Linked DNA regions of Homo sapiens: region 1 is linked to region 2. Evidence: promoter capture Hi-C in human tissues and cell types (Jung and others, 2019). All regions are on one chromosome and are shown on one strand. Each heading gives the region's core, a stretch centred on a gene start or on the middle of the fragment in contact. The rest is flanking DNA. Distances are from core to core; before and after follow the strand shown.

Region 1 (2,700 bases), core at 66-2,565, 35 kb before region 2:
CAATGGTGGAGCCACGTCATTGTCCATACGTCCAAACCCATGCAACGTACAACACCAAAAGTGAGCCCTCATGTAAACTATGGACTCTGGGTGATAGTGATTTGTCAATGTAGGTTTATTGATTATGACAAATATCGCACTCAGGTTTGATATTGCTAGTGGGGGAAGCTGCACGTGTGTGTGTATGTGTGTGGCAGGTAGGAGTAGAGGTTGATGAAAACTCTGCACTTTTTGCTCCATTTTTCTTTCTTTTCTTTTCTCTTTCTTTCCTTTTCCTTCCTTCTTTCCTTCCTTCCTTCCTTCCCACCCTCCCTCCTTTCTTTCTTTCTCTCTTTCTTTCTTTCTTTTTCTTTCTCTTTTCTTTCTTTCTCTCTTTCTCTCTCTTTCTTTCTTTCTCTCTTTTCTCCTTTCTTTTTTTTTCTTTGTCACCCAGGCTGGAATACAGTGGTAAGATCTCAGCCCACTGCAACCTCCACCTCCCAGATTCAAGCAATTCTCCTGCCTCAGCCTCCCAAGTAGCTAGGATTACAGGCATGCACCACCACGCCTGGCTAATTTTTTTGTATTTTTAGTAGAGTTGGGGTTTCATCATATTGGTCAGGCTGGTCTCAAACTCCTGACCTCGTGATCTGCCCGCCTCAGCCTCTCAAAGTGCTGGGATTACAGGTGTGAGCCACAGTGCCTGGCCTCTTCTCCATTTTTCTATGAACCTAGAACTTCTCTAACACATTAAGTCTATTTAAAAGGAAAAAAAAATCCTTATCACCTCGGCCCCAGGATAGCATTACCTATGGGAGGAGAGGAGCTAGCGTTAGGGAGGGGAGAACGAGGAGCTCGGGCGAGCTGGCCATCATGTCCTGTTCCTTGATCTGATGGCAGGCATGTGCTTTACTTTGTGAAAGCTCACCCAGTTATCCACTTTGGATATGTAAACAAAAATGTTTAAGAAAACTTCACCTGTAGTTATCTGACCTACACTTTTAAACAATAAAGAAAGCCTAGGCACATGGAGCCCTGGATAACTCATGGAGCAAGCGGGTGCGGAATGCCTTCTGTAGCCAGCCTCAGTCCCACGAGGATGGGCTGCTGGGTGACAGCAGGACAGGCTGCCCAAATGCTCTGGTCCTCCAGGGTGCCTGCCCATGCCCCATTCTGTTTGGTCCACAGTGCCAAAAGGTCAGGAAGAAGGACAATTAGAACAACCCCATGGTTTCAGCAACATGGAGGCCATCAAGAACCATTTTGAAACCATATGGGATGGGGGATGGGGACAGAAGCTTGTTCGGAAAAGGTTGAAAAGTGAGTGGAGGGGCCAGGCGCGGTGGCTCACGCTTGTAATCCCAGCACTTTGGGAGGCCGAGGCAGGCGGATCACCTGAGAATGAGAATTCAAAACCAGCCTGACTAACATGGAAAAACCCCGTCTCTGCTAAAAATACAAAATTAGCCGGACGTGGTGGCAGGCGCTTGTAATCCCAGTTACTCGGGAGGCTGAGGGAGGTGAATCACTTGAATCTGGGAGGTAGAGGTTGCAGTGAGCTGAGATCGCGCCATTGCACGCCAGGCTAGGCAACAAGAGCAAAACTCCATCTCAAAACACAGAAAAAAGAAAAAAGAAAAGTGAGTGGAAGTGAAGAAAGTCAAAGATGGTCCATGTGGTAGGCAGAATAACGGCCCCCAAAGATGTCCACAGGCCTTAATCCCCAGGATCAGTGATTATGTTACCAGACATTCATGGTAAAAGGGACTTGGCAGATGTGATTAAGTTATCAAAAAAAAAAAAGAGAAACATAGCTGTAAGAACTGATGTTCAGAGAGAGATTTTTAAATAATTGTGATTGAGTTAAAGTGAAAGAGGCTTGTGCATATATGTATGTGTACAGATAAATACATATGCACATGACCCTTAGATCGTATGTATTAGATTTCTTTCCTTTTCCCCCCACCGAGACGGAGTCTCCCTTTGTCACCCAGGCTGGAGTGCAGTGGCGTGATTTTGGTTGACTGCAACCTCCACCTCCCTGGTTCAAGCAGTTCTGCCTCAGCCTCTGGAGTAGCTGGGACTACAGTGCCCGCCACCATGCCCAGCTAATTTCTGTTTTTGGCTAGGCTGGTCTGGAACTCCTGACCTCAAGTGATCCACCCACCTCAGCCTCCCAAAGTGCTGGGATTACAGGTGTGAGCCACTGCGCCAGGCTCATACCTATTAGATTTCTTACCATGGGTTATGGTCCGACAAGTTTGAAGGGGGATATTGTCAAGAGACGGCTCAAAATGATGAACCGTGGGCTCCAAGCTAAATGTAAGAAAGGAAATGAGCACAGAAGAGGGGAGGGGCGCAAGGGACCAGAGTTCCTAATGAGGACCAGCAAGGTCAGAGTGAGGGAATCACACAGCAGGCTGGAAAGGCAGGAGGCTGTGCCCACGAGTTGTTTGAGGAGTGATTTCAAGGTGGATTTGCAGGTTATGGAAATGTCCAGGAGTGGCCATGGAAGGAGGTAGGAGAGGTTGGTGGAGAAGGTTGCTGGAAACAAGGATGCCAGGACTGAGAGTGAAGATGCCCTGTGGACCAGGCGTCTCCCAGGATGAAGGTAGGAAGTGGGGTGGAGCAGGAGCCAGCTGCCAAGGTTGTCCTTAAACAAAAGGCAGATGACAGATGAGCTGCTCCCAATCTCACACCCTTTCCGGCATGCTGCTTTCC
Region 2 (2,700 bases), core at 170-2,669:
CTAAGGGCTCTCCACTAACAATGACATTCTCTGTAAGTAAACTAGAACCCCATCTCAACTTCTGGTTTGCCCTTGTTCTTTGCTATGTACTAGCCTACTGCACAAACAGGACTGAGGAGGACTCCCTTTACCACCATTATGTTGCAAAAGACTCTGCACTGAGGACCCGATAGGGACCGACTGTGCAAAGCCTGAACTTGGCAGAAGATCCCTGGAGAAGGAGGAGTATGGGGCTCAGAGCTGCTCCCTAAGCTGGGCTGGGGAAGGCTGAAGGCCTCCAGCCTTGCCAGAGGGAGATCCAGGTGTGCTTCAGCGGCAAGGACATGTGTTACCTTAAGCAACTGCAGCGCTAACTTAAGCATGTGCTCCTATGGCTATCGTCAACCTAGAAATCCCTTTCACTTTGGGGCGTCACACCTGTAAGCTCAGAACTATCTGAGATCCGCTGCGAGAGCCTGGATCACGATTCCCAAAAAGAAAAGCCTCCTAGTTTATTCGAGAGTAGGAAGTCATTATTTTCTGTGAAGGAAACTGGAATTGGAGAGGGAGGACCCTGGTACACTTTGGCAGAGAGGCTCCTCTCTCTTATCTAAGTATCTCCTCATCCCTCACTGCCTTTCCACCAGACCTCCAGTCCCCGCGGGCTTCCCTTTCTACCTGCCAATGTGGACTCGAGGTCAAGTGTCCCCTGGGCTAGTCTCCTTACATGGGCAAACGGGCTACGCGGGTGACAAACGCGGCGCAACGCCTCCGACCACAACACGTGTATTTTACAGCGCTGGGCGCGGCACAGGGCTCAGTTTAAGGAGCCTCCATAGAACGAGCGTGGCTCAGGACCAGGTCCCTAATGCTAGGAAATTGACGAGGTCAACAGCAGGGCGAGAAACTCTGAATACATTACACACCCTTCCTTCTTGGGAGTGGCAGTCCCCCGTCGCCACTTCACTCGCAGCCATCTATATGCCAAGGGCTCACACCAGACAAGTGTCTGTGAGCACGCCTCAACTTTAATCCTACCCCGCCGTGTCCACTGGTGCGGCTGCCCCCAGTCGAGGGTTCACCTGGGCGCTCCGCGGTGCCGGGGGCACACAGCCAGGGAGGGCGCTCTTACCAGAGAAGTCGGTGAGCGCTGAGATCTCTTTGGAGCAGACCAGGACAGTGCAGTAGAAGAGGCGCAGGAGCTGCCCCGGCGGCTCTACCTGCCGGCGGAGGCCGGGATGCTGCACGGGCTGGGGCGTCGGCGGTTGGCGTGCGCGTCCCGGCAGAAGCATCGTGCGCTGCGCGGCGGGGCGGAGGCGCAGGCCCGGGACGCGCTGGGGGTCGCAGGGCTAAGGACGGCGTCACATGGCGGGGAGAATCGATGGCCAGCGGCTCCGCGGCCCCCCGCCGCCTCCCTGCCCAGGCTGCCAGAGCCTCCTCCCCTGCGCGGGCCAGCCCAGGCGCCCCAGCAAAGGGGAGGGGGCGGAGAACTGGGGCGGGGCGAGGATCCCCGAAAAGGATCCGCGTAGTTTCCCCGAGAGGAAATCTCCGTTGCCGCCGTGCCGGAGGAAGCGAGGGGGGCCGTAGGGAAAGCGCAGCCTTCGCGCGCCCCGCGGCTGCCCAGGCCGATCCCTGGCGCGCTGCCCACCGCGGAGGGCGCCCCCAGTAGCGCGCCCCGGGCCGCGCACCTTGAGCGCCTTCCACACCCGGGAAACAGCCGGGCACCCGTGGCCCTGCCCGCGCTGGCCGGGTGCCAGCCTCGCCCTGGCGGCAGAAGGAGCGCGGCCGGTGCCCGTGACGCACTTTGGAGCCAGCGCCGCGCGTGCAGCTGGGGCGCCCCCGGGGCGGGGCCGATCGGGGGCCGCAGGAAGGTGGGGTCCTGGAGGCGTGGGATCGCACCGCTGCCATCCCCGCCACCCGCCGCGCGCCACGTGCAGTCACCCGGCACATACAGTTATCGCCATTCCACAGAAGAGGAGACTGAGCCCCGGCGCCGTGCCCAAGCTCTCGCAGCCAGGACGGCGACGAGCTGGAGGTCTCAAAACCGGTCAGATGGCTCCGGAGCCGGGATCTTTAGCTCCAGCTCGGCTTCCTTTGGGTGCTGGTTGTCCGCAGCGCTGGGGGATCTGACACTGCACCGGCGCAAACAGCCGCCGAGCGCTAATAATTGGGCTTTGTTTTAAAGTGGGCCACAGCATCTTTCTGAACCTCTAGACTGTGCGCGGGGTGACCCACGTTCGGACGCCCAGCCAGTGGCCTAGGAGTGGCCTGCGTAGCCCCAACTCAAGGGTATCGAGGACAAGTGCGCGAGGGGCTCCGTGGCTGCTTGCCGGGTGCGGGTACCTGGCGCCCAGCGACCCAAACCCTATGGATCGCGCGGGGCCGGCGGAAGGGAGGAGGGCGGGCGCTAGGCACACAGTGTTCCCGAACCCGGCGGGAGGGCCTGCCAAGTTCGCGGCGGGCGTGACGCGGAAACGTAGATAATGAGGCCCAGGGCGGGGCCGGACGCACTGCCCCGCGGGCTCCAGAGCTGCGAACGCCCCAGAGTGTGCAGGGAGGCCTGCAGAAAGAAAATGCGGCTGAGGGTCCCCGTGGGACCCACTCAGAGGTGGGCCGTAAAGATCCCGGAAGGGTGGATGGCATTAGATACCACCTAGTACTCCAGCAAGGGCTGGGTCACCGAATTGGGATCTCGGCCTCTTCTTCCAGTCTGGGGAAAAG

Evidence for each region. The method cuts DNA at HindIII sites, captures the fragments that hold promoters and counts their contacts. A contact is called where the count stands out against the background at its distance.
Region 1: a fragment that was not itself captured here is called in contact with the fragment with the promoter of EVA1C in region 2 in 3 of the 25 tissues and cell types used here (H1 embryonic stem cells, dorsolateral prefrontal cortex and heart left ventricle).

The regions. Positions count from the first base shown.
Region 1 is chr21:32,446,615-32,449,314 of GRCh38, reverse strand. All of the region lies in intron 1 of EVA1C (eva-1 homolog C), which reads right to left. Among named protein-coding and RNA genes, the nearest start is that of EVA1C, 35 kb to the right of the region's middle. The HindIII fragment of the contact is 3,605 bases long and covers 1-2,700 here.
Region 2 is chr21:32,411,425-32,414,124 of GRCh38, reverse strand. It overlaps EVA1C (eva-1 homolog C), which reads right to left and starts at 1,419. Exons shown (of 8, transcript NM_058187.5): 1 at 1,112-1,419. The coding sequence starts at 1,271. The HindIII fragment of the contact is 9,144 bases long and covers 1-2,700 here.